Linked DNA regions of Homo sapiens: regions 2, 3, 4, 5 and 6 are each linked to region 1. The links are contacts of gene promoters, found by promoter capture Hi-C in blood cells and fetal thymus (Javierre and others, 2016). All regions are on one chromosome and are shown on one strand. Each heading gives the region's core, a stretch centred on a gene start or on the middle of the fragment in contact. The rest is flanking DNA. Distances are from core to core; before and after follow the strand shown.

Evidence for each region. The method cuts DNA at HindIII sites, captures the fragments that hold promoters and counts their contacts. A CHiCAGO score of 5 or more calls a contact.
Region 2: a contact is called between a fragment that was not itself captured here and the fragment with the promoter of INIP in region 1, in 3 of 17 cell types (megakaryocytes, erythroblasts and fetal thymus). The highest score is 6.5, in megakaryocytes.
Region 3: a contact is called between the fragment with the promoter of UGCG here and the fragment with the promoter of INIP in region 1, in 3 of 17 cell types (naive CD4 T cells, total CD8 T cells and fetal thymus). The highest score is 6.6, in naive CD4 T cells.
Region 4: a contact is called between a fragment that was not itself captured here and the fragment with the promoter of INIP in region 1, in 1 of 17 cell types (fetal thymus). The highest score is 7.0, in fetal thymus.
Region 5: a contact is called between a fragment that was not itself captured here and the fragment with the promoter of INIP in region 1, in 1 of 17 cell types (fetal thymus). The highest score is 5.9, in fetal thymus.
Region 6: a contact is called between the fragment with the promoter of SUSD1 here and the fragment with the promoter of INIP in region 1, in 2 of 17 cell types (fetal thymus and total CD8 T cells). The highest score is 5.6, in fetal thymus.

Annotation. Positions count from the first base shown.
Region 1 is chr9:112,715,917-112,720,544 of GRCh38, forward strand. INIP (INTS3 and NABP interacting protein) reads right to left here and starts at 2,201. Exons shown (of 5, transcript NM_021218.3): 1 at 2,071-2,201; 2 at 545-625. The coding sequence starts at 569. RefSeq lists an enhancer at 1,783-1,882 and a silencer at 2,253-2,412. The HindIII fragment of the contact is 2,113 bases long and covers 1,624-3,736 here.
Region 2 is chr9:111,755,297-111,759,924 of GRCh38, forward strand. It overlaps SHOC1 (shortage in chiasmata 1), which reads right to left. Exons shown (of 28, transcript NM_001378211.1): 6 at 3,399-3,552; 7 at 2,788-2,899; 8 at 1,029-1,182. Among named protein-coding and RNA genes, the nearest start is that of SHOC1, 37 kb to the right of the region's middle. The HindIII fragment of the contact is 1,826 bases long and covers 1,040-2,865 here.
Region 3 is chr9:111,894,652-111,899,279 of GRCh38, forward strand. It overlaps UGCG (UDP-glucose ceramide glucosyltransferase), which reads left to right and starts at 2,163. Exons shown (of 9, transcript NM_003358.3): 1 at 2,163-2,662. The coding sequence starts at 2,565. RefSeq lists an enhancer at 1,614-2,197 and silencers at 1,818-2,407, 2,518-2,607. The HindIII fragment of the contact is 9,149 bases long and covers 1-4,628 here.
Region 4 is chr9:111,925,383-111,930,010 of GRCh38, forward strand. It overlaps UGCG (UDP-glucose ceramide glucosyltransferase), which reads left to right. Exons shown (of 9, transcript NM_003358.3): 5 at 1,002-1,114; 6 at 4,118-4,296. Among named protein-coding and RNA genes, the nearest start is that of MIR4668, 4.4 kb to the right of the region's middle. RefSeq lists a silencer at 1,256-1,415. The HindIII fragment of the contact is 1,347 bases long and covers 1,170-2,516 here.
Region 5 is chr9:112,075,874-112,080,501 of GRCh38, forward strand. SUSD1 (sushi domain containing 1) reads right to left here. Exons shown (of 17, transcript NM_022486.5): 11 at 4,201-4,292; 12 at 2,665-2,851. Among named protein-coding and RNA genes, the nearest start is that of LINC02977, 38 kb to the left of the region's middle. RefSeq lists an enhancer at 1,218-1,317. The HindIII fragment of the contact is 5,993 bases long and covers 1-4,628 here.
Region 6 is chr9:112,172,806-112,177,433 of GRCh38, forward strand. SUSD1 (sushi domain containing 1) reads right to left here and starts at 2,492. Exons shown (of 17, transcript NM_022486.5): 1 at 2,328-2,492. The coding sequence starts at 2,430. It also overlaps the pseudogene RPL29P20. RefSeq lists a silencer at 1,951-2,610. The HindIII fragment of the contact is 4,774 bases long and covers 874-4,628 here.

The DNA of each region.
Region 1 (4,628 bases), core at 951-3,450:
GGATTATCAAGATGTCACTTAGGCGATTGAAATTTTTCAGCTCCATTACCATCTTATGGGACCACCATCCTATAAGCAGTCTGTCATTGACCTAAACATCATTATTCAGCACAAGTGTATTTCAAATTTAGAGTTTTACTTTGATGTTCTTCTTTTTTTCTTTTTCTTTTTTTTGAGACGGAGTCTCACTCTGTCGCCCAGGCTGCAGTGCAGTGGTGCAATCTCGGCTCACTGCAACCTCCGCCTCCTGGGTTCAAGAAATTCTCCTGCCTCAGCCTCCCTAGTAGCTGGGATTACAGGTGCCCGCCACCATGCCCAGCTAATTTTTGTATTTTAGTAGAGACGGGGTTCCTGACCTCAAGCAGTCCACCCGACTTGGCCTCCCAAAGTACTGGGATTACAGGCGTGAGCCACCGCTCCCGGCCTGCTATTCATTTTTTAAATTCTGGCTACAGTAACTGCCCTATGCTAAATTTTCTCTTATTCAAATACATTTACTATATTGGGGAAATGTTCATAGTAAAGAAATTCCTGCTGTCATTACCTTGTCCTGAAGAGTTTGCTGCCATTTTCCTATTTTGTTTCAAGTATGTCCAGTGGCAATTGGTCAGCACTTCACAATCACCTATAAAATATGTGTACACACATATACAATGCACCATATTTTAATCACAAACTAAAAGGAACAGCTAGCCTCCTTACAATGAAATGTTTGCTGTTTCTTAATCTCTTCAGAAAGATACATTTGTGCCGGGCGCGGTGGCTCACGCCTGTAATCCCAGCACTTTGGGAGGCCGAGGCGGGCGGATCACGAGGTCAGCAGATCGAGACCATCCTGGCTAACATGGTGAAACCCAGTCTCTACTAAAAATAAAATTAAAAAAAAAAATCAGCCGGGTGTGGTGGCAAGCGCCTGCAGTCCCAGCTACTCGGGAGGGCGAGACGGGAGAATCACTTGAACCCGGGTGGCGGAGGTTGCAGTGAGCCGAGATCGCGCCACTGCACTCCAGTTTGGGCCACAGAGCGAGACAGCGAGACTCGGTCTCAAAAAAAAAAAAAAAGAAAAGAAAGAAAGATACATTTGAAATGTACACAGACTGAAACAAATGTAAACTCTGCTAGTGCCTCAAGCATTTAATTAAATACGGCATTGTTTATTCTTGCAGATGTTCATACCATTTAGCATTACTGTCTTTAATAAACGTCATTAGGTTGTATTTACCAAATATATCAACCAATTGATAGAGTCAATATAATCATGGTGCTAGGAAGAAAAATCATTCATCTATGGTGTCTCTGCATTCGTCTAAAACACATACCCAAAAACTACTGTGTACACTGAAAGCTAAAAAAGGTAAAGGAGTACTGTATCTGCTCTGCACCATACACTGTGTAACATGCTCGAAATTAGTTCCTTTATTTATTTATCACCATTTTATAGATGAGGAAACCGTACCCAGGGTCATAGAGCTAGTAGGAATTATTTGGGCTGCTGGTTTCCAAACTTCGTGCTTTCGTACTAAATCCTGGGGAGATCCAAGATGAGCAAGACCCTAATCCTGCTTTCAGAAGGGAAAATAAAGTCTTATTCAAGCAACCATACTATTAATTAAAAAAAAAAAAAGCTTAACAAACCCGCTCTTTAAAAGGTGGGCACAGTGCCGGAGGCAAAGAATTGATTTCATTGGCAGCAAAGAGTGATGCCTTAGTCTAGGGAGCCCGGGAAAGACACAAGGGATAGAAAACAGACACCGGTTTTTAGTAAATGAATCGTTAGGTGTCTCCAGCGGCTGAAACACAGAGCGAGCAATGCGGGGTTAGGACTGGAGGACAACAGGGCCATCTTGTGACAGGGTAGACTGGCGTGCCAGAAAGGTCCCTGCCTACGGATGTGCAGAGCCGGCTGGGCCCGGGCTGTGAACGAGACGAAGGAAGCAAGTAGGAGCCAGAAATGTTAGGTGGCAAGGTCGGAAGGGAGGTCGCTGCCTGTAGCAACAAAGACGGCGGCGACAGGTTAGCACCGGAGCCACACTTTTCTATTGCCCGGTGCCTCCAGACTGTCGTACTTACCTGGGACCCGAGGACACCGGGACCGCCTCTCCTTACAATCGCTGCTCTTAAAGGGGGCGCGACCACTTAGGCAAGAGGAGCTCAACTCGCGGCACTACAACCTTCCCGCCCCCGCTGCGCTTCCGCCTCCTGACTGACGTGCGCCCCAGGGAGCGGAAACCCCGCCTCCCGCCGGGACCCAACGGCCACCGCCCGTCGTGATTCGCACTTTAGCGGCCACCTCAGTGCAGACGTCACTTTTTTTTCCAAAGAGTGACAGTCGAAGAGGCTCACGGGAGATGCAAACGGTACTTTTGGGGGCTGGGCCAGGGTGGGGCGTGGCCCGGGGCGGGGGAGGGGCGGGGCTGCCAGGCAGGGGCGGGACGGAGAACACCTGGGTCCCTAGCACCAAGACTGGCTTTTTATTCATTGCCACCGCCTGGCCGGTCTTGCGACGGTGCGAGTCCACCTCGGCTGGGCCTCGGAGGAGGGGCGACTCTAGAAGCTAAACTCGCTTTCGAGCTTTAACAACCATCTCGGATTGCGCATCCGCACACACACACACACACACACACACACACACACAAATTCAGGAATATTTTTTGTCTACAGTTTACATAATTATACACAATGAAAGCACTGAATATGGAGGATTTTTATTACAGTGCAATAATCTGCATTTAAGAAGTGGATGTGCCACATCGCAGAACACCAAGTTGCCACTAGTGGGATCACCTGCTGCCCACCTGATTCCAGCACAGTAGATAGCTACACATTTGAATTAAAAGGTAATCGTATATTGACATGTGTTCAAATTGCACTCTTTTTAATTTAAAAAAATATTTTTTATGGTGACAGTGTCTCGCTTTGTTGCCCAGGCTGGTCTTGAACTCCTGGCCTCAAGGGATCTGCCCACCTCAGCCTCCCAAAGTGCTGGGATTACAGGCGTGAGCCACCTGCCCTGCTTAAAATTGCAGTGTCTTAATCTCTTCCGAAAGATACATTTGAAAAACGCACAGACTTAAATCACAAATGTAAGCTCCCCAAGCGCCTCAAGCATTTAATTAAATAGAATGGATAATGAATTTGAACATATGTTTTTAATAATTGATGTTTGCTCAAGAGTAAAATGTTTATGATGCACAATTTTCTTGTGCATGGATCAATGACTGAAATAATCGTTTCAATATCAAGTATTTATTTACTGAAAACCAAGCATGTATTTACTCTATACCAAGCAGCTATTGAGTGCCTTCTACAATGCGAGGTGCTTCCTGTGCATCAGCTCTGGTCCTGCTGTTCCCTGATTTATATTTGAGACTCATGTTTCTTGCTCTATGTCAAGTAGCGAGCTAAGATTCAAATTTAAAGATCTGCCAGATGCTAAGGCCTGAGTTCTTAAATCTCACACATTGCCTCTGCTCTGGAGGAATGAATTCCTCTGAGACCAGTTCTTGCTGACTTGACTTTAATCCAGATATAAAGCCTAACACATGAGCATTTTGATGGTAGGCCAGGAGTCCTTTCAGTTAAGAGGACTTGGTGAGTTCTAGTATGACTAAAAAGATGACTGAGATCTATATGGCTGATAGAACCTTAGAATTTTTTTTTGTTTTGTGGCCTAGCTAATATAGAAACTAGGGCACAGAAAGTTCCAGTCTAAGTTTCAAATGGACATTCTGAACAAAGCTTATTTAAGGAGGTGGGAGTAAAAACAGTTCTAACCCTAAACAACATTTTATAATTTCTTAGCAAATTCAGCCTCTGAGAGTTGAAAGAACATTATCAGGAGAAAGATAAATTTAACTTGCTGCCAATTCTTTTGCCTTTTACTTGGTAGGTCATAGCCCTTGAAACCCTTCTGTCTTCTCCTAGAGTTTTTGGAACTTCTGCCTCATTGTGTTAACCTCTAACACAGTGGTTAATAGTGAGTCAGTTTACTTGAATGCAAATTCGAGCTTTGCCACTTAATGATGGTGAGCCCTGGTTTAACCTTTTGGTGCCTCTGTTTTGTCATCTATAAAATGGGAATAAAAATAAGTGATTGGGTATACGTAAATCACTTAGAATAGCACCTGGCACATAATAAGAACTCAATAAATGTTGACTATTAGAATATAAACAATGAACAATCTGTTTTACTGGGTGTCTTGGCAAGTGGTCAGTAGATCAGCTGAGCCTGGGTGTGGTGGCTCATGCCTGTAATCACAGCACTTTGGGAGGCCAAGGCAGGAGGATTGCTTGAGACCAGCCTGGGCAATATAGTGAGACCTCATCTCTAGAAAAAAATCTAAAAAATTTGCCAGGTACGGTGGTGGGTGCCTGTGGTCCCAGCTACTTAGGAGGCTGAGGTAGGAGGATTGCTTGAGCCCGGGAGGTCAAGGCTACAGTGAGCTATGATTGCGCCACTGCAGTCCAGCCAGGGCAACAGAGCAATAGACCCTGTCTCCAAAAAAAAAAAAAAAAAAAAGAAAAAGAAAAAAAAAAAAGAAAAAAAACGTCAGCTGAGAAATATACTAGGGGAAAGTCCAAGACAGAAGGAGTGCATGTTATAGCCCCTTGGCTCTATTAACTGATAG
Region 2 (4,628 bases), core at 703-3,202, 960 kb before region 1:
CTACTTTCCCAGGTTGGCTTTTCATTCCCTTGCTTTGATTTGCAGGCAGAACAGTAATTCCCTGATTTAGTTTTAATCGTAAGAATTCCTTCAAGTCTGTGGTCTGTTCATGGCAAGCATCCCTGTTCTCAATGGATATCGCAGATCCCCCTTCCTTTCCTCCATGATATTATATATCTTTGATCATTTTAAATGAAATTTATGAGAGGGCAGTTAAATATTTGGGCTTATACTGTCATTAAAAATAACTCAATAATATTTACTAAATTTACTAAGACTAAATGGGATGAAACCATCTAAGTTCTAAGTTATGACTCTCCTAGTCATTGACTCCACGAATCCATACTCTGAGCTCTTTATGGTGAGCCTCTCCATAGTTAACTAATGTCAGTATAGAAGTTGATAATGTTTTTATTGTTTATAAGAAAACAACTCTTCAAAAATTTGTATAGTCATAGGTGTTTTAGTTTTATTTGTATAATTATCTTGAAATGGTTAAATTTCAGAGACGTTTTAAACCTGAAAGTCATACAAAGAGAATGACGGCTGGGTGCAGTGGCTCATGCCTACAATCTTAGCACTTTGGGAGGCCGAGGCGGGCAGATCACCTGAGGTCAGGAGTTCAAGACCAGCCTGATCAACATGGAGAAACCCCATCTCTACTAAAAATACAAAATTAGCCAGGTGTGGTGGTGCATGCCTGTAATCCCAGCTACTCGGGAGGCTGAGGTGGGAGAATCGCTTGAACCTGGGAGGCGGAGGTTGTGGTGAGCTGAGATCTTGCCATTGCACTCCAGCCTGGGCAACAAGAGCGAAATTTTGTCTCGACAACAACAACAACAACAACAACAAGAAAATGACAATGAGAAAATAATCTCATCAAAAATAATCCTGAGATTTCAACATGTAACTTGCAGAACATTTTTGCAAAATCTGGAGGTTCAGAAAAATTTTAATAAACAAGAACCTATGTAACAAACATTCTTAAGTGGTTTTTACAAGTAATACATTTTACAATTAATTCTCACCTCTTTCAAAAAGCTTTTCCTTTTCATCTACATAGTTTATTATTTCTGGCACTGGGTTTAATAACTCCTTCAGTTCTGAGAGTGATGGAATATCAATTTCTGGTTTGAGGCTTGGAGGTATTAAGAATTCATACTCAATAAGAAAACTTGACGGCTGAAAAAACATAGTTTAAAAAAGTTTTTAGAGAGGCTTTCCAAATAAATATTTTCGAAATCATAAGTGGACAAAATTTGCTTAAATGATGTGCCAAATTTTAAACTAAATCCACATTCAAAATTGTTAAAGCTATATATACTTTAAAAAAACAGAAATGTAGCAGCTAAAAATACGTTCTATTATAAGCAATGTTCTCTCTGAGTATTGTATTTTATGGTCACTCATTACATTAGTGGTGTACAATATCCCTAGATGCAGAAATAGCTTCTTTTTGGCTAATAGCAAATTGTAAACATTTTAAATTAAAAACAGTCACTGCAGTAGATGAGAGATAATAAATGGTGAGAAGTGAAATGAGATCATGGAATGGAATAGATCTTTACTGTGATCCATGGAGTATGTTTCTCTTTCATTCCAACAGAACTTGACTCCTCAACAAGAGAGACTAAGTCCACAACTCTCAGGGTTAACCTGGGAAGCAAGAGGTACTGGAGGAATGGGGCCTATTGGTGAATTAACCTTTTTACCATCATGTTAAAATTTTTATTGTAAGGAAACCCCTTAAGTGCTTTAAGTCCATTAAAATCTCCAAATATAAAACATTTTAAGTTGTCCTAAAAAAATGTTTTTTGTGTTTTGTTTTTGAGATGGAGTCTCGCTCTGTCACCCAGGCTGGAGTGCAGTGGTGCGATCTCACTGCAAGCTCCGCCTCCTGGGTTCACGCCATTCTCCTGCCTCAGCCTCCCGAGTAGCTGGGACTACAGGCGCCCACCACTATGCCTGGCTAATTTTTTGTATTTTTAGTAGAGACAGAGTTTCACCATGTTAGCCAGGATGGTCTCGATCTCCTGACCTCGTGATCTGCCCACCTCGGCCTCCCAAAGTGCTGGGATCACAGGCGTGAGCCACCGCGCCCGGCCAAAAAATGTTTTTTTAAAGTAGCTTTGTGAACGCATCTAATCAATATGGGCCTAGATTTCTGAGCTTGTCCAGCTGCAAAAAGTTATTGCAATCGCAATAGCTAGAATTCTTTACATACTGATATTATGACCATTTTGTGTGCTATTGAAACTAAATGCATCTTTGAGAAGTTTGGCCTTTAATATGCAAAAGATGCTATCATCCTTGTTAAACACTGGCAGAAAACTAAAATTCAGTCTTGGACCCTCTATATTCTTACTCTTGCAATATTCTCATTAGCTCAAGTACTATTTTTTGTGTATAACTCACAAATCAATATTTCTAGTTCAGGTGTCAATTTTTAAACTAGACATGACTACTTAATTTCCTATACCAGGTATATTGATTACAATTATTGGAAGAGATTTTAAAGTTCCCTATGACTGGCCTGCACACCAGACCAATTTATCAGAATATATCTCAGGCTTCAACATTTTTTTTTAACTATTCAGGTAATTCCAACATACAGCCAAGGCTGAGAACCACTATTTAGAAGTAAATTTGACTTCTTAATTGATACATGTTCATTCCATTATAAAATCTTTTTAATTTGACAATTGTAGACAATGTATATTACACAAATTTTACAAAAATGTGCCTCACTACTTTTACTAAAATATTATTGAAAGCCAGTATTACAACCTCATTTAAACATATTGTATCTTCTAGTTTCTCTTGACAAAAGTTCACTTTATCCATACAAAAATCTTCTTTCACAAAAGCTTCCAAAGTTTCTTGAAGAGAGAAACATTCCCTTAAAAAAAAATACATTAATTAGTGTTTACTAAAAGCAAGTTACATACTAAATGTAGCCAACCAAAACACATAATCATTAAAATTAAAGTTGAGGTAAAACGATGATAAAAGTTATTGGCCGGGTGCAGTGGCTCACGCCTGTAATCCCAGCACTTTGGGAGGCCGAGGCGGGTGGATCACCTGAGGTCAGGAGTTCAAGACCAGCCTGGCCAACATGGTGAAACCATGTCTCTACTAAAAATACAAAAATTAGCTGGGCACAGTGGCGCACGCCTGTAGTCTCAGCAAGGCTGAGGCAGGAGAATCGCATGTGCCCAGGAGGCGGAGGTTGCAGTGAGCCGAGATTGCGCCATTGTACTCCAGCCTGGGCGACAGAGCAAGACTCATCTCAAAACAAAACAAAAAAAAACATTGTTGATAACATCTAAGCTTGTGATCATACTAAAACATTTTCACCTCTTAAAAATATTTACAGCATTGGTCAATTAAGTAAGTACCTGGAAAAATTAGCTTCTGTGAAGATCTGTCCTTTGAAATCTAAAAGAGGATCCTTTACCAAAAACAGTTTTAGTCTACTCAAGAGAGTAGGCAAAGTTGGTAGGTGTTTTCTACTACTTACAAAAAGTATTCCTTTATCATCAATAAATAAATCTGAAAAGAAATAAGAAATATAAAGGAATAAGAAAAAAACAAAAAGTTATCCAAAGAGATCTAGATAGTTAATGTAATCAGTCATTAGATACAGCTGGGTTTTTCAATCACATTTTAAACTCTGTAGCTCTTCATTGTACTGTGCATATAGAGCATGTAGCATAGTTCTGGAACAAAGGCAAAAGTACAATAAATTTTAGTATTATCTAGGACACCGAGGAATAGCCAAATATCCCAAAAGAGCTGTAACGGCTAATACTTTATCAATAAAGATTAATCAATGGAGGAAAATATCTTATGGACTTACACTTCAAAATAGCCAGGCGTAGCCTAAGCAAAATTTTAAAGAAATAGAAGTATTTGACTTCTGCTGACCTTGGTCTTCTCTGCATCATTTTACCTCTTAATATCTCCAATTCATCCCCCAGAGTCTCTGACATGTAGGGAATGGAGATGGTCTACAGTGCCTACAAATGAGACTGATTCTATTATTCTTAAGTTATTCACATGGTTGCTATAAAATTATTTACAGTGAAAGTTTTAAGCAAAGAATCTACTTGAGGAGTATGATATAGCTTATGTATTAAGAAACACTACTGCTAACAGTTAATTTCTGGAATAAATTTCTCCTCTCGGTCTCCACCCTGCCTTGTCTGGGTTTCTTTAGAATCTTGGCTAGCTGTCTAACAGCTTTAACAGTTTCTAAGTCACAGGAAGGAACATAAACTTGCCCCCAATTCTTCAATAAGTTTTTGAGTAGAAAGAGAAAAAGAAAAATATAAGCTCAGATGAAGAACTACTCAAAAAGCCAAGTTCCCAAAAAAGAAAGCCATCCTGAAGGGAGAGCAATGGTTTCTCATCCTGGGTATTGACTTTTCGGTTAAGTGACGCTGAATGGCATAAGAAAAGAATAGTACGGAGTTTTCAGGTAGTAATGTCTCCCACGGTTAACTACATAATTGGTATGCAGGCAGCAAGGGAACATCCCTTTGCTTGGTGCTAACTTGATATGCCTTAAGAGAACTTGTGGTATGAACTAGCTTCCTAAAAGAGATTTATCTGAACTTAAGTTCCTG
Region 3 (4,628 bases), core at 913-3,412, 820 kb before region 1:
CAAAAAAAAAAAAAAAAAAAAGAAAAAACGCCAATTAACTCTAAGATGGCATTGACTGTGAGATGCATTCCCATTTCAGAGAAATTAAAATTTGTTAAAGTGTTTTTTTGAAGTGTGCCTTAGAATTAACTACAATCGTAAATTTTTGTTTGGAACGTTATTTCGATGTTAGAATTCTATTCCACTTTTTTTTAAGACAGGGACTCACTGTCACCCAGGCTGGAGTTAAGTGGCGCGATCACAGCTCACTGCAGCCGCCACTTCCCAGGATCAGGTGATCCTACCACCTCAGCCTTCCCGGTAGCTGGGACTATAGGTGCCATAACCATGCCTGGCTAATTTTTTTTTTTTTTTTTTTTTGTAGAGACAGGGTTTCATCATGTTGCCCAGGCTGGTCTCAAACTCCTGGCCTCAAGCAATCCTCCTACCTGAGTCTCCCAAACTGCTGGGATTACAGGCATGAGCCACTGCGCCTGGCCCTCCATCCTGCTATTTTTATCAGCCAGTAACTCTCAACAGTGGGAATTTGATTTTGAAGCATTGTTCTTTCCCACTGATTCTGCACCAGTGGAGCCAAGGATGTTAATCGAGGAATGGTTCGGACATTAACTCTTCTAGTTGTAGTTTGTCATTTAATTGCAGATTGAGGTAGATCATTCAGTGACTATTAACTACCATAAACAGCAATAATAAACAACTTCTTTTCTTTTTTTTAAATTCATCTATTTTTTTTCGAGACAGAGTCTCGCTCTGTCGCCCAGGCTGGAGTGCAGTGGCGCGATCTCGGCTCACTGCAACCTCCGCCCCTCCAGGTTTAAGCAATTCTCTGCCTCAGCCTCCGGAGTAGCTGGGATTACAGGCGCCTGCCACCACGCCCGGCTAATTCTTTGTATTTTTAGTAGAGACGGGGTTTCACCATCTAGGCCAGGCCGGTCTTGAACTCCTGACCTCATGCTCCACCTGCCTCCGCCTCCCAAAGTGCTGGGACTACAGGTGTGAGCCACCGCGCCCAGCCACAACTTCTTTTCAAAATTGAATTCAATTCTGAAATATCTCAAGGGAGGTCATGGATTATTTAAAAGGAAATCACTTGCAACAATAAACATAAAACAATGCAGAAATAGTATAAACTCATCTAGATTGAAGAAACACAAACATTGAGTACTAGCATCTTCTTGGGATGACTTAAAATTAGGACAAATACTTAGTTACCTTACTACCCAAAGTGACATTTCTTCCCATTTTAGAGCTGTGCTGTCCACACGTACAATTAAAATTTTCTAGTAGCTAGCCAAAGTATTTAAAAAGAGAAATTAACTTAATAATTTACCTAATTTAATGTAGTATGTCCAAAATATTACCTTTTCAACATGCAATCAATATAAAATTTACTAACGAGATGGTCTTCCACATCTGGTGTACTGTTTACTCCACAGAGTGGCAAGCTGCCTTTCCAACCCTCACTTAGCCACATGCGGCTACCGTATTGGATGGCAGTCTTAGGGAATTTCAATATCAACTGATTCTTTAATTCTGAATTTGAGAATTTCTTTTTATAATACACACGGTCGCTAAGGCGCTTAGAGATCTGTGAGGCGCATGGAGATTATTTTACTCTCCGGTCCCTTTTGATCCAAGATCCCACAGCATTAAAAGCAGTAAGAGGGAAGGCAATGGGCATCCCTTGCGCCCAGGAACGTGGCCTGGAGGGCCTGGCTGCTCCGAGCAGTAGCAGTGCCCGGCGGGGAGGCTGCAGACGCGGCGTTGGAAGTTGGATTTCTAGACAAGCTCCGGCAGCTGCCCGGAACCCGTGTCTTTTTCTGGGGCACCCAGGAACAGCAGGGCCAGACGGAGAGAGAGCAGCCTCCAGCCAGGCACAGGGTCCCGAGCTGCCACCGACACCGAGGGAGCCCGGCCCAGGGCTGCAGCGCTTTCCGCCTAGGTGGGCGGCAGCGGGAGCGAGGAGCCGGAGGAAGCCCGGCCTGCGTCCTGCGGGCAGCAGGACACGATCTCCCCGGCGCGCTCTCGCCGGCGCCGCAGCGGGCGCGCGGGCGACAGGGTGGGCGTGGACCGATGGGGGCACCGCCCCTGGGAGAGGCGGGCGCCGCGGTTCCGGGGGCGGGACGCGCCGAGGAGTGGGGCGCGAGCCGCCGGTTTTGATTAGTGCGCGGAGCTGCGGCGGTGGAGCTGCTCGGCCGGGAGCCCGGCGGCGAGACGGAGAGGCGGCGGAGGTGCCCGCGCGCAGGGTCTGGTGGGCGGCCGCGAGGCTCGGGAGAGGCGAACCGGAGCGCGGGACCGCGGTCGCCCCGACCAGAGCCGGGAGACCGCAGCACCCGCAGCCGCCCGCGAGCGCGCCGAAGACAGCGCGCAGGCGAGAGCGCGCGGGCGGGGGCGCGCAGGCCCTGCCCGCCCCTTCCGTCCCCACCCCCCTCCGCCCTTTCCTCTCCCCACCTTCCTCTCGCCTCCCGCGCCCCCGCACCGGGCGCCCACCCTGTCCTCCTCCTGCGGGAGCGTTGTCCGTGTTGGCGGCCGCAGCGGGCCGGGCCGGTCCGGCGGGCCGGGGGATGGCGCTGCTGGACCTGGCCTTGGAGGGAATGGCCGTCTTCGGGTTCGTCCTCTTCTTGGTGCTGTGGCTGATGCATTTCATGGCTATCATCTACACGTGAGTGAGGGACCGCAGGAGGGGCTCGGGGCAGGGGTCCGGGCCTCGGAGACAGGCGAGAATGGGAAACGTTTGCGCTTTGAAGGGGACTGGGCTCGGGCGGGGGTGGAGAAAGCTGATCGTCAGGCTGTTCCCCCCGTTCCCTCGCCCCTCGGACCGGCGGTGGCGGTGGTCTTTGCGAGGGAAAAGTGTTGGGCGTGGGAAGGGTTTGCTGGGTTGCAGGCGACTGCCCAGCCAGGCTAAAGGAGACTGCTCTTACGTGTCAGGCTGAAGGTGGTGGCTTGGTTTGATTGTGCTGGGGATTCGTGTAATTTTTCATCTGGGCCGAGATGTATGGTGTATTGTTTTTTTCTCCCGACCTGGGCCACGTTTCTGTTAGGGTGGTGATTGTGTCCACTTTTCTGGGAGCTGCTCACAGCTATCTGGACACCTCTCTGTGGATTTTCTTCTTCCTGGAAGGGCTCTATGCGCTTAGATAGGTGTGAAGCACCTGTCCACCCTGAAAAATGTCCACCAAACCTCCGAGCTGGCATGATAGCTTTGAGTCCTGTCAGCTTGTACATCTCAGCGTGGTTTTCTTTCCTTTTTTCAGTTCCTCGTTTTATTGTTTTATGTAGATTTGTACTCTCCCCGTGCCGGCCACATCTTTTCATTTTTGTTTAACAAATACTTCTTGAGGCCTACTAGATACCATTCACTGTTATTGGCCAGGGGACATGGTGGTGAGCAGGACAGAATTCCTGTCCTCATGAGTCTTACATTCTAGAAGGAAGGAGCAGATAAAATCTAAATAAGGTTATGAGATTGTGACGAAGCGTGTAAGTAAAATAGAACTGGGTGATGGCGTGAATAGAGACATGGGTTATGTGGCTAGTTTGGTATATCCACTGTTTAAGGTGAAATCTGCCTCTGTAAAGAAATGAAAAAATTATATAGAGCACATTACTGATATCGATTCACTTGGATTTTTAGTCTGGGGGGAGAAAAGAGCAATTGTATATAGTAATCGTTACCATGAACTAGAATAGAGTGTATGTTAGTGGAAGAGACTTTAAGAAATTAGTTACTTTTAGTTTTTTGGTTTTTTTTTTTTCCTTTTTACTGCGGAAAAAGTGTGCCTTTGCTTTTGGAAACACTGTATTTTATTAGTATAGTGTGGCATTTCCTGGTACTGAGAAAGATGATGCTGGTACAGGTTATACTGATATTTCTTTGAAAGTGAAAGAAAACATGCCACTTGGATATTGTTGACTTTAGTTTTTGGAGTTGGTGAGCTTAGTCACAGCACATTCTGGAGTTCATTTAAAATATGTGAGTTCTTTTTCTTTAAAAAAATTGTTACTTTTTACCGTCATAAAAATAAAAAATGCTTACTGTGTAAGGAATTTATGCAATAGAGAGAGATGGAGAAAATTAAAATATGCACACACCAAAACTACATTACCTTGTTAACCTTTTGTGACTATCCTTCCAATCTGTGTGTGTGTGTGAGAGAGAGAGAAGGAGGGAGGGGAAGAGGGAAGAGAGAAAAGGACTATATTATGATTATTGTTCTGTAACCTGCTTTAAAGTTCATCTGTTTAATAAATGTTTATTGAAAAGCCGTTTTGTGCAAGGCACTGTTCTAGTTGCTGGAAGAGTGAAGAACAAACATACAAGGCCCCTGTTCACATGGAACTGTCCTGTAAAATGTCTTGACCGTTTTTTGCATGTCAATATCTGTATGATCTCTACATCATTTGTAATAGATGCATGATATTTTAGTTTACCAGGTACCAAGATTTATTTATTATTACTGATGGATGTTTAGGTTGTTTCCAATTTATCTAGATTACAAAGAACACTGTGATGAATTTATATGCATACATCTTTGAGAAATGATCTCATTTATATTTCCGAAAGAGGAATTATTGGGCCAGAAGTGGTGCACATTTTAAACTTTGATACATATTGGCCCCATGGAAAT
Region 4 (4,628 bases), core at 593-3,092, 790 kb before region 1:
TCAGTGTTCTATAATATTTTCTTATATTCTAATTGCCTTAAGCTTCTCAACCCCAATACTGTTCACATTTTAGGCTTTGTTGTGGGAGCTGTCTTGTAGGATGTTTAGCAGCATGCCTGGTCTCTACCATGAGATGCCAGTAGTACCCCCTTCTCAGTAGTAAAAGCAAAAATATCTTCAGATGTTGCCGGATGTCCCCTGTGGGGCAGAATTGCCCCCAGTTGAGAAGCACTGACCTAGAATGAGTATTTAAGGTCCAAATACAACTTTTCTTTATACGGTAGATTTAGTTCTTAAAGACTTGGAGGAAATGAAAAATAAGGTCATGTAAAAATGATATGAGATGTTTGCTAAAGATTGGGCAATAATTTAAATTTTTTATTAGCTTAAAATGCAAATTAGAAAATGAACATAAATGTTGCACTCCTATGAGTTAATCAAGACCATTACAGATCTATCAGCTGGTCAGAGATGATGTTCATTCTTCATATTTGCTATCTTAAATTATTTACTATCATATGTTTTTCAGTGTACAGATCTCTGTTCAATATAATCACGTTCCATTCCTGTGTGGAAATCTGATACTCACAGAGAAAATAGTCTCATTTCCTATGGTTGGAGAGTAGAGAAGCCAGCACGAGAACTGAGGTCCTTTAGCCTCTGCTCCTGAGCCTTTTCCACTAGGACAGATTGTCCTTATTCCAAATTAGAAGTTCCAACAGGGGGTAACTTTTTCAAAGTATATTCTGCCTCTGGTACATAGTAGGTATATACTGGGCTAAAAAATGTATAAATTAGCTTTCGAGAATTAGGCCCTTTTGAAATTTTGTATTCTCCTCAGAAAGGTGGTTGAGATTCATTTTATTAGATCCATATGTTTAAAATAATGTATTTTATTAAGAATGTAATAACAATTCACAAAATATATTTTATATTAATGGGCATTCTACTAAAAACAAATTTTCTTTTCTCCCCCTCTCTGCCTTTTTTTTAAATTGTAGTAATTCCAGATACGCTTACTGACATGGTGAATCAAATGACAGAAAAAGTAGGCTTGGTTCACGGGCTGCCTTACGTAGCAGACAGACAGGGCTTTGCTGCCACCTTAGAGCAGGTGAGTATGGTGGTTATAAATCATGTTCATAGTATCAGACCCCTCATTTCCCAGAAGCTTGAGACTATGGGAGCTGGAATTAGGTATCTCAAGTTAACTGTATTAAGTCCATTTGGGAACCTGCTGTGTTCTAGAAGCCCTGAGTTGAGAGCAGCTGTTTTCATTAGTGAGGAAATTCTTGGGACCCTGACTGTACCCTGGCAGTGAACAGCTGTGCGCAGGAAATGCCTGCGGTCTTATTGCCAGCTGAACACAGTCTAACCTCTTGCCTTGTAGTATTCACTTCCTGTTCTAGAGTTCAGTTCTTTATATTGTTCTTTCAAACATTCGATCTGAAAAGAACCGCTGGCCCCCTCCCCCCAGCCTTTTTTTTTTTTTTTTTTTTTTTTTTTTTGCGACAGAGCCTTGCTCTGTTGCCCAGGCTGGAGTGCAGTGGCACGATCTCGGCTCACTGCAACCTCCACTTCCCAGGTTCAAACGATTCTTCTGCCTCAGCCTCCCAAGTAGCTGGGATTTCAGGTGTGCTACCACACCTGGCTAACTTTTGTATTTTTAGTAGAAATGGGGTTTCACCGTGTTGGCCAGGCCGGCCTCAAACTCCTGACCTCAAGTGATCTGCCTGCCTCAGCCTCCCAAAGTGCTGGGATTACGGGCATGAGCCACTGCGCCCAGCCCTCAAAAGAACCTTTTTAAAATACCACAAAGTATTTCAAATATACACAAAAGAAAATGTATTCATACAAGTCCTTATAAAACCTATTTGATGTCCTTTTAAAACATATTTCTAATAATTACCTGAGAAACTTATGTTTTCATTTTATTTTTTCTCCAACTTAGAAATAGTAACATCCATAGGAAACTATAAATAATGGAAAAGTATAAGATGCAAAAAAACAAAAACCAACAACCTAGAACCCTAACAATTACAGGAAGTTTATGGGGTTTTTTTGTTTTTTTTGTTTTGTTTTTTTTTTAGATGGAGTCTCGCTCTGTCGCCCAGGCTGGAGTGCAGTGGCGCGATCTCGGCTCACTGCAAGCTCCGCCTCCCGGGTTCACGCCATTCTCCTGCCTCAGCCTCCTGAGTAGCTGGGACTACAGGTGCCCGCCACCATGCCTGGCTAATTTTTTGTATTTTTGATAGAGACAGGTTTTCACCGTGTTAGCCAGGATGGTCTCGATCTCCTGACCTCGTGATCCACCCTCCTCTGCCTCCCAAAGTGCTGGGATTACAGGCGTGAGCCACCACGCCCGGCAGGAAGTTTCTGGTTTTAAAAATAAACATTGTATCATTTGGACACTTTGGAGTCTTTATTTCCCCCACCACCCCCTTCTGGGCCCTTTAGAAAACATTGTTGAGATAGTATTCTAAAAATAATCTGTATCTTATTTTTGTGACTTTGTAAGCTTTTCCCATATCATTAATAGCTTTTCATAAAAGTAATTTTTATTGGCTGTATCATAGGCCATCGTATGTGTGTCCTATGCTTGAGTTAATCATTCCTGTACTGTTAAACATTTGGGAGGAAAAATTTGTTGTAATGTTATAAGGACAGATATGTGATTTCAGTCTTTAAATATGTCAACTTGCTCTTAAGCATATCTGCATTTATATTCTTTTGAATTGCAGTCTTATGATTGCCACATATCTGAAGGGGTAAAGGTACATTGTGGGAACTTGCATCTGGCCTTTGGCAGTTTGAACCATGAGCTCTTTCTTAATATTGGCTGTAAATATATTTGTCCTACTGCAAGAAATTGTTAGTCTTAAATACCAGAATTTTTGTTTAGAAAAAGAAACTGAGTAGCCACTTTAAAATAAAATACAATGTGTTCTAGTATACCAAATTGTATTTTTGTCTTAGAAATATCCAAATTGATACAGATGTCAATAACATCTCTGTGATGTGTATGTCAATAAACATCTCCCAGAATACACCCATTGCCTTAGTGTAGGTTTAATCTCTGGAAGTCACTCTGCCATACTTAGAATTAATCATTCTCAACTGTAAAGAGCACATTCAGCTCAGTGACTAACATCTCATTCCTAAGACCTCAATAACTACTAAGGAATTAAGATATGTGCCTCTGTTCTTAGAAGTCAGGTTCAGTTCAGTCCCACAAACACTAGGGCTTCACTGGAGTCTGGGTTCAGGGTAGGTAGCAAGAATCATAATCATAATTGCCCCTTAGAATTCTCTTGCTCTGCACTGTGTGTGTAACTCCTAAGAAAGATGACTACTCTTTATTTCAGGCTAATTAGAAAAGGCAACATATCTGAGGTGTAAATAATAAATAGGATTTTATGTCTACTAAGTAGGGTAATAACAGTCCTTTTCTACCATTGATTTATCAGCGTATATATCTTATGACTTCAGAGTATATGCAGAGAAATGGCAGTAGCGGATGAGAGAATTTTAGTATCCCCGTTATGAAAAATACATTGAAAAAAATGGAGAAATTGGGAAGAATCTTAGTGACTAAGGGAGAGGGAGCAGCTAGCTACAAAAGGATGCAAGAAAAGGAATTAAGAAATAGGATTGTGTCCCCTCCCCACCCCCCACCCCCCAAAAAAATAGGATTGTCCCGAAGGTTGATATACCTATGGGTGGTGTGTGTATGCATGCATGTATATATACACACATATACGTAACATACAAATATGTATATTGATCCCAGTAAAGTAGATGTGTGTGTATATTTACATGAACACCCTAAAAACAAGATACATTGAATATTTGTTAATATTTTATATATCAATGAGTGATATTTTTACCTTATTTTGTATCTAAATTAAGTTTTATTTGGATGCATTTTTAGCTTACTAACTGTGCTTGCTCTATGAAAGCAATATTGTCTACCACTTTTTATTCAGGTAGTCTACGTAAGAATAATAAGATATTCACTCAATCATACTTATAAAAAAACCATTGGGAAAAACAGTTCGTGAACACCATGCTTTTAACATGAAATTCTAATCATACACGTTTGTGGTTTTTTGGGCAGGTATATTTTGGAACTTCACATCCAAGATACTATATCTCTGCCAATGTAACTGGTTTCAAATGTGTGACAGGAATGTCTTGTTTAATGAGAAAAGATGTGTTGGATCAAGCAGGAGGACTTATAGCTTTTGCTCAGTACATTGCCGAAGATTACTTTATGGCCAAAGCGATAGCTGACCGGTAAGACAACTAAATGAAGCCATAGTATTTTTATTACCTAACTTCTGTTGGTTTATTCTTTTTGTTCAACCTATAGATTAGGGCTTTTTAATTTAATTTTATTTTTTTTGCTAGTAAGTACAGAATAGGTCAATAATTTTATTATTTTGTTTGTTTTTGAGACAGAGTCTTGCTCTGTCACCTAGGCTGGAGTGCAGTGGCGCGATCTTGGCTCACTGTAGCCTCTGCCTCCCGGGTTCAGGTGATTCTCATGCCTCAGCCACCAGAGCACCTGGGACTACAGGCATGTACCACCATGCACACTAATTTTTGTATTTTTAGTAGAGATGGGG
Region 5 (4,628 bases), core at 627-3,126, 640 kb before region 1:
AGAAGCCATATGTTGACAGTGTCCCAGGAAGTGTGAACTGCAGATGGAAAAGTCTGGAGGCTGGAAAAACTTTGACCCATTGAAGGAACTGCAAGAAGGCCAGGGAGACAGCTGATGCTTAATGGGAAAGGAGGAGAGCAGGGGGAGATGAATTAGAAGTAGGCAGGGGCCAGATGACATGTCCTATGATGAGGAACTTGGATTCCATTCTAACTTTAATGGAAACTCACTGGAGAGTTTTGAGCTGGTGCTGACATGTTCCCAAATGCATTTTTAAAAGATCACTCTGAGTGCTGAGTGATCTTTTGAAAGTTATGGTGAAGACTAAGACTAAGGTCCAGGGTGGGAGGTATATAGGCAAGAGAAAACCAGTTTGAAAACTACAGCAGGAATCCAAGCAAGAGGTGGCTGTCTTGGATTAGGGTAGTTGTGGAAAAGGCACAGGTGGGGAGAAGTGGTGGAATTCAGAATATATTTCAGACAGCAAGCCAACAGGGCTTGTTGACAGATTAGAAATTTGGGGATGGGATAGAACCAATTAGGACTTGTTTTTGGTCTGAACAATTGGGTGAACAGAAATTCCAATAACAGACAGAAAGTAACAGATAGAAACAGAGAAGCCTGGGTGGAAACCGATTTGGGGGCGAGGGCAGAGGTGAGAAATCACAAGTTCCGTTTGATTTGCGTATTAGATGTTCAATAGGACATGTGTAGAAGTTGGGTGGATATAGGAGTCTGGTGCTCAAAGGAGAGGCTGGGACTAGAAATTGATCTTTGGAAATCCTCTGCATATAGGTAATAGTTATAGCCATAAGACTGGTTGAGATCACCTAAGCAGAAAGGGTAGATAATGAAGAAAAGGAGGCTGAAGAGGGGTCATAAAAGTAGATGGAGCTAGCAAAGAAGACTGAGAGGGGACAGCAAGGCAGAAGGAACCAAAACTAAGGGAGAGGGGGTTTCAAGAGGGAGGGAGTGTCAACGCTATCGAAGAAATCAGATAAGAACAAAACTGGCCATTGGATTTGGCAAGACGGAGATCAAACGAAGAGCCTTTCAGTAAAGCAATGAAGACGTATGTTTCCCACGTGGGATGAGTGAAAGTGAGAACAGGAGGTAGGGCTGTGGAGCCTACAGAACAGCCATTTCTTTCAAGGAGTTTTTATAGAAAGGGGCAGAGAGAAGGCAAAGTAGCTGAAGACAAATATGGGCTCAAAGAAGGTCTGCTCATTTTTTCTTTCTTTTCGTTCACAAGGAGGATGTTGCAACATGCTAGGCAATGCTGGGGATAATTCTGTATTGAGGGGAAGTGCTGATCAGGGAAGAAGGGATGGGATCTAAGGCACAAGTTGAGGGGATGGCAGCCTTACACACGAGCAGGGACAGGAAGGGAGGCAGAACAGGATGCAAGGAGGAACGGCAGGGCTGAGCGTGGGAAGTCCTCACCTGACTACTTCTAATTTCTCAGTGAAATAAGAATCAAGAAGCTAATATGCTTAGTATTTGCTCAGAGCATGTGTGAAGTGGGGGTCACAGATGTGAAGAGGGAGGAGAAAATGAGTGGAAAGTGAATTTACTGGGGCCCTATAGCCGGAGGACTACAATCATTGTCCCCTGATAGTAATCTACTTTTTTTTTTTTTTTTTTTTTTTTTTTTTTGAGATGGAGTTTTGCTCTTGTTGCCTAGGCTGGAGTGCGATCTCAGATCAACACAACCTCCACCTCCTGGGTTCAAGCAATTCTCCTGCCTCAGCCTCCCGAGTAGCTGGGATTACAGGCACCTGACACCACACCCAGCTAATTTTTGTATTCTTAGTAGAGGTGGGGTTTCACCACGTCAGCCAGGCTGATCTCGAAATGATCCTCACATGATCAACCCTCCTCAGCTTCCCAAAGTGCTGGGATTACAGGTTTGAGCCACTGTGCCTAGCTAGTAATCTACTCTTAAAGTACTTGCAACAGGATGCCAACTAAATATTCCTGAGAAAGAAAGAGCCACAAGCATTTTTTGTTTAAGTATAAAGTATTTTAAATGCTTTAAATATCCAGAAGCTATACAACCAACACCATGGATGGACACACTACCCACATTTCATCAATGCTGACATTTTGTTTCAGGTATCTTCCCCCTCCCCCTCCCCACAGACCTCCCCTGTGGTTATTAGGTATCTTTTTAAAAATAAAACATAACAGGCTGGGCGCAGTGGCTTACACCTGTAATCCCAGCACTTTGGGAGGCCGAGGCAGGTGGATTGCTTGAGCCCAGGAGTTCGAGACCAGCCTAGGCAACATAGTGAAACCCCGTCTCTACAAAAAATACAGAAATTAGCCAGGCATGGTGGCCTATACAACTATAATCCCAGCTACTCAAGAGGCTGAGGCAGGAGGATCATTTAAGCCCAGGTCAAGGCTGCAGTGAGCCATGATCGTGCCTCTGCACTCCAGCCTGGGCGACAGAGCAAGACCCTGCCTCAAAAAAAGAAAAAAGAATGAAACATAACAGTCACAGAGGCGCCTTAAGGCACCTCTCCAATTCCATGTCCTTCCTCCTCTCCCTGTTAAAGTTCATTATATAATGATAAAAAGCAACAGTGTTCCTCTTTATCAGGACCTATGAACAATTCTGTGGTAACTTTGTTAATCCAAATGCTGTTATTCAAGATTTACCTGTTATCTGGGTTGTCAGGGAGATGACCACAGGAAGTTCCGAAGACAGAGCCCGGAGACTGACATTGTAGTTGGTACCCGGACGTAGGTCCAAGCACACCTCGGGATCTCGGCTGCTGCTACTGATATTAAAGGTCATTTCCTGGGCAAATTCCTTCTGATACCATCTCTGGCCCCAAATGTGGAACTGAAACATAAAAAAGCTCACTGGGTGAATGGTTGGCCTAAAAGGCTTTAGATGCCTTGAAACCTCCCCTTTTCCTTTTTCTTTCTCTTTTTTTTTTTTTTTTTTTGAGATGGGGGCCTCACTCTGTCACCCATGCTGGAGTGCAGTGGCATGACCTCGGCTCACTGCAGCCTCAACCTCCCAGGCTCAAGTGATCCTCCCTCCTCAGCCTCCCAAGTAACTGGGACCACAGATGCATGCCACCACATCCAGCTAATTTTTGTATTTTTTGTAGAGACAGGGTTTCGCCATGTTGCCCAGGCTGGTCTCAAACTCCTGAGCTCTAGTGATCTGCCACCTCGAATCCCAAAGTGCTGAGATCACAGGCGTGAGCCACCGCGCCCAGCCCCTTCCCGTTTTCATGAGCTTTCTTCCTCTCTCTCTCTCTCTGGACTCTAATGTTTCTTCAAAAGGTGAAATGCAGCAGTAAGCAAATATTAGAGTTGCAATACTATAAATATTGTACTTAAAATATTATTTGTATAATAAATATATTTTTAAATAAAAACACACAAAAGGCTAAGGTCCCAATACTGGCAGCTTTCTCCTTATTCTCACACATACAGTGCACATACACAACAAGAAAGTCTATTGGCAAAACTGCAGGAGCAAGGACAAGAACATTTTCCTAGAAAGAATATTAGGAATCCAAACTAAGCAGGACCTGAATTAGAATACTCGTAGCTGGTCTGCTAGAACCTGAGAACAGTTTTTCTCCTCTTCCTGCCAGCTTCTGGTGACCCTACCCTTTCCTTAACCACCCTGACACTTCGGCCAAGAGACACCCTTTTGTTCTTACTTAATTTCTTCCAGTAGAAGTTCATCCCAGTCTTCCCCCTCCTTTTTTTTTTTTTTTCGAGACAAAGTTTTGCTCTGTCACCCAGGCTGGGGTTCAGTGGCGCGATCTTGGTTAACAGAAACCTCCACCTCTTGGGTTCAAGCTATTCTCCTGCCTCAGCCTCCTGAATAGCTGGGATTACAGCTATGCGCCACTACGCTCGGCTAATTTTTATATTTTTAGCAGAGACAGAGTTTCACCATGTTGACCAGGCTGGTCTTAACTCCTGGCCTCAAGTGATCCGCCCGCCTCAGCCTCTCAAAGTACTGGGATTACAAATGTGAGCCACTGTGCCCAGCCACTGTCTTTAAATACACAGAAGTGGCCATCTTCTTGCTTCTTGATGCAATTGTCACAGTAAATCGTCTACTGATAATGATAGTTATAGATGTAGATTTTTAGGTTTGTGGGTATTTTTAAGCCTCCCACATAAGACAACCATCTATAAATACAGTAACTTTCAGTCACTTACTAAATACATCTCCTCCATATCAGCTGTCTTGATGCTTCTCCATCTCAAGCAGGTTTCATTAAATCCTGAAATGTTACTGATGGTCTGTTTTACTGTAGTGGAAAAGAAATGAGAAATCAATTTACACTCTATAGAAAAAATGCTACCTTTTAATTGAGCCATTTTTCCAAGGATAAGTGTTAGCATGAGTTCAACAGTATTTTAATTTAGAAATTAGTGGTAGCAGTCTCAAAGTAATACCACTTTTATATCTAGGTAAACTCAGTCTTGATGAAAGATTTCAGATCCAAAGATACCTAATCGGAGGACCCCTCTTAAGAATTATTTGAGTGGGCCGGGCACAGTGGCTCACGCCTGTAACCCCAGCACTTTGGGAGGCCAAGGCAGGCAGATCACTTGAGGCCACGAGTTCGAGACCAGCCTGGCCA
Region 6 (4,628 bases), core at 1,242-3,741, 540 kb before region 1:
CAGCTATTGCAACAACTTCCTCAATGGGCTTGTCCAAGCCTCCAGTCTTTCCCTACATTGTCGACTGTCAGGAAACCTGCCCTTCATAAAACCAGGTTCTCCAAGGTTGAACATGAAGGGAGAATGTCTAGATAAGGAGAGGGGGCTCAACCAGGAAGCCTTGACTTCTGTTTCCCCAAATTCACCCCCAAAACCTTTAGTTACAGATGACCTTACGTAGCTACTAGCTGTGTTCAGCCATCTTAGTCTAACAATTCAATGGGATCATACTGGACAGTTTCCTACCTTAGAGATATCACAGGAAGATCCTGAAATAGACGCCAAGCATCTGCAAGTCCTATGCGCACTGTTCTCGGAGATAGAGCCAAGGAAGGAATCTTAACCAGGGCACCTAATATTACAAAAATGGCCACTCCAGAAGATCAAGCCATTGAAATACCCATCAGGCATGGTAAAAGTCCCAAGCCAAAGAGAATGGGGGTGGGGGCGGCAGGCAGGATTCTCAACCACAAGTCTCCTTGTATGTCATCACATGGAAATTTCCTTCCACTTCAGGATCAGCGTTTGGTTTTAGTAAGGAAGATGGGGGTTCCTTAGACCCTCTTTCCCCCGCCTCAAGTTTACTTATACAAATAGCAAAGGAGGACATCAGCCCCATGCAGATGGCAGTCCAAGGGGGACAATCCTTCTGTCCTCACGTTGGCAGACACAGATCTCTACTCTGAAGGCTTTGTAGGGGCCTGAGCTCCTTCGGGAGTCTGAGCTGGAACTGAAGCTGGAGCTGCAGCCTGAGCCTTGGTTTGATCCTTGACCTTGGTCTTTGGCTGGCACAGCCTGAGCCCCTTGGCAATGCGGGCACGAGCACGTTTCCCAAGCTTGAGGTGGGCAACGTAGGCAAGAGCTGACACCCTTTGGAATCTTGGGCTTAACCTCCTTGGGGTTTATGAGGGCAAGGCCTCAGCACGTGCACTCATGGCCTTGGCACTGTCGCCCTGCATCTTCTTTAGGCCCCTCTTATTGTGCTTCTTGGCAAACCGCATGTTTGTCAGGAACTTGGGGTCCACCCCTTTAAAAGATTCGTATCTTTGTGATCCGGGTTTCATGATGCCGTTTCTGTGCCATTTTCGGGACTGGTTGTGTGTGGTGTGGTGCTTGGATTTGGCCATGTCTGCACTGTAACCTGTGGCTCCCGAAGCGCCTAGAACTGGCTAGACCCACTTTTCTTGTCACTCCCTGAGACGGCTTCCAGTGGCTTCCAGGCACAGCTAAGTCCAAAGGCCTAGGTCTGCCAATCAAGGCACTCTGCCCTCTGCCTCTGGTGCCTCCGTGTGCTTCCTTCCCTTCTCCCCCGGGCCTGAATTCTGAAGGAATTCATTCATTCTACACTCATTTGTGGAGAGGTGACAGTGCCTTCTGCTATGAGCTGGGATACCTTTTTCACATTTTCCCATATCCAAATATGACCAATCATTGATGGCCCAGCTCAAGGGTCACCACCGATTCCCCTTTCCCTGCCCTCACCACCCACACCTTCTCATGGCACCCATGCCATTCTGCCTTGTATTACAGTTATGTGGATGAATGTCACCTCCCCTGCGTGTCTGAATCCTCTGTGTAATTCCTACTCAGCTCAACACTGCATTTTGCAGAGGAGGAAAAACAACTCCCTCGATTGCTTGGAAATAGAACATTTGCTGGTCTAAATCCTCCAGACAATGAGCTCCACGAGGGCCCGCACTGCCCGCCCTCATCGCGCACAGGGAAGCTGTTCAAGGGCCATCTGTTGAATGAATGAGTGAATTAATGGCTTCACTCCTGTACTCTTCCTTACGCGTCTTTCTCACCATATTTAGCATCCGGCTCTCTAACAACGTGAAAAAATTAAAAGTGGTAAGAAAATTGCTTCGGGTCAAAAATGTGTCATGCAAAAGCCACCGCAGAGCCGGAAGCGTGACAGCGCCGCAGAACGCCCTGGCCTCCCCGCCCTTCCCCGGGCGCCGCCCTGCCCGGGTCCGCGCTCGCGCCCAGCCCCCACCCCGCCTCCTGGGCAGTGGAGGTCCCTGGGGGCCCGGCCAGGCCGCCTTAAAACCGGCGTCCCCCGGCGTCGCGGGGTCGGGCGGGGGCAGGGAAGCCCGGCGGGGAGCCCCCCGCTTCTCTGAGCTCCTCCTTGCCGATCTCCAACGGCCGGCGCGGGCCCCACCTGCGCCCCACGCCTCGGCACCGCGCCGGCCCGGCCCAGGGGCGGGGAAGCGTCCGTGCGCCCAGAGTCCTCGAGGCCCAGCCGGGGGCCCCGCCGGCCGCCCGTGCCCGTCCCAGCCCGCACTCACCGTCGGGGCCCGGCGCTCCCGCGGCGCCGCGGGCCAGGCCGAGCAGCAGCAACAGCGGCAGCAGGCGGCGAGACGGGCCCGCATCCCAGGGCCCCCGGCCCATGCCGCCGCCGGTCCCTCCCGGCGCGCCCGCGCCTCCTCCCGGGGCCCTCAGGGTGCAGAGATAAGGCTACAGGCGCCGCGGGGAGGGGACCAGCCGGCGGCTTCCGGCGCCGCCGAGGGAAGCGGGGGGCGCTGCGGGGTCCCCGGGAGGCCGCAGAGCGCGGGTCCTTCCTCTTGTCGGGGCCTGGGCTTAGGACACGCCCGTTCCGCGTCCGTCTCTGGCTCCGCACTTGCTGCCCTCTCGCCGCTCACATTCGCAAAGGGGGACAGACACTCATCGGATAATGACACAGCTGGACGCAGAGCCCCGGAGAGTGCTGGGGAGGAAATGTTGCGGAGGATTCAAGCCACTCGAGGGCTCAGGGAGGCACCCCCGGGGAGAGGGGTGAGGGGAGCAAGGGGCGGAAATCTTCCAGGACGTGAAAGGGAGCTGGATGAGGTGACCACAGCGCAAGGCCCAGATGAGAGGTCGGAAGACGCAGACCCAGGCCACCCAGGGGCGACACACTTGACCAGGTGACACCTGGTCACCGGGAGTGAGAGAGAGTAGGGCTGTGATGGAGGGAGGGGCTGGCATCAGTCCCCGCTGCTCTGAGGACACCCGGCTTGGGACGCGCTGATGCCAGCCCCTACCTCCATCACAGCCGTACTCATCCCAAGGGAAGGAGTAAACCAAGACCCAAGGATGAGAAGGACGTTGGGGAGGAATCTAAGCGGGAGTTTGTTGTAGAAATGGGGAATGGGGACCTAGAGTGAGAGCAGAGGGTTGGAGAGGGGCGTTGAGCTGCAGAGGGAAGTTAGCCCTCCTAACCCAAGTGATGGAGGTCGCCGGGAAGCTGTCACAGTTTCAAGCAGTGAATGACTTCATCACTGACACATCTCTGTCTGTTCTGTGGAATTGGGATTGGGGTTGGGTTGGGATGTGGAAGGCAAAGAGTCCAGCCCGGAGTTGCTGCAGGAATCAGGCAATAGAAGACATGTCCTGGCCCGGTGCGGTGGCTCACGCCTGTAATCCCAACACTTTGGGAGGTCGAGGCGGGTGGATCACTTGAGGTCAGGAGCTCGATACCAGCCTGGCCAACTTGGTGAAACCCCGTCTCTACTGAAAAAAAAAAAATTAGGTGGGCACGGTGGCAGGCACCTGTAATCCCAGCTACTCGGAAAGCTGAGGCGAGAGAATTGCTTGAACCCAGGAGGCGGAGGTTGAAGTGAGCCGAGCTCGCACCACTGCACTCCGGACTGGGCGACAGAGTGAGACTCCATAGACAGATAGATAGATAGATAGATAGATAGATAGATAGATAGATAGATAGATAGATAGACAGACAGACAGACAGACAGACAGATAGAGATAGAGATAGATGTGTCCTGCAGCTGGGCATTGACAAATGAGTGTGAAGAGGGCAGTGTGTAAGAGTGGAATCCACTAGGTTTTATGACTAGTCGGGGAGAAGGAAATAAATAAGATCCGGTTTGAAGGCTTTGAGCTTGTGATGTCTGTGGGAGCGCAGCCGAGAGCAGGCACCCCACTACTTCACCCCATATCCTCACTTGTTTACTCTCTGCCATGAGCCTGCCGTAAATCTCACCACTTTCAAACACACCCATATAAGGGCTAAAGTTGTGGAGTCTTAACAAGTAGTTAAAAATCAACTTCAAGCTGGGTGAAGTGTGGCATGCCTGTAGTCCCAGCTACTAAAGAGGCTGAAGGGCAGGAGAATTGCTTGAGTCCAGGAATTCAAGGCCCATGTGGGCAATACAGTGAGACCCCCTCTCTTAAAAAAACAAACAAACAAAAACAAACAAAGAAAAAGCTCATCTTCCTAGGCTCTTTTTTCCTCTTGGGGAGACAAGGTCTTGTTCTGTTGCCCAAGCTGGAGTGCACAGCTCACCACAGCCTCAACCTCTTGGGCTCAGGTAGTCCACTAGCCTCAACCTCCCAGTAGCTGGGACTACAGGGGCGCAGCATCATGCCTGGCTCATTTAAAAAATTTTTTTTGTAGAGACAAGATCTGGCTATGTTGCCCAGGCTGGTCTCCAACTCCTTGGCTCAAGCAATCCTCCCACCTTGGTCTCCCAAAGTGCTGGGATTACAGGAGTGAGCCACTGCATCTGGCCTCACAAGCTCTTTTCTTAGCAGGCTTTCTTGAAAATTATTTTTGATCAACAAAGACAGGCACCTGTTTGGGGAGCAATAGA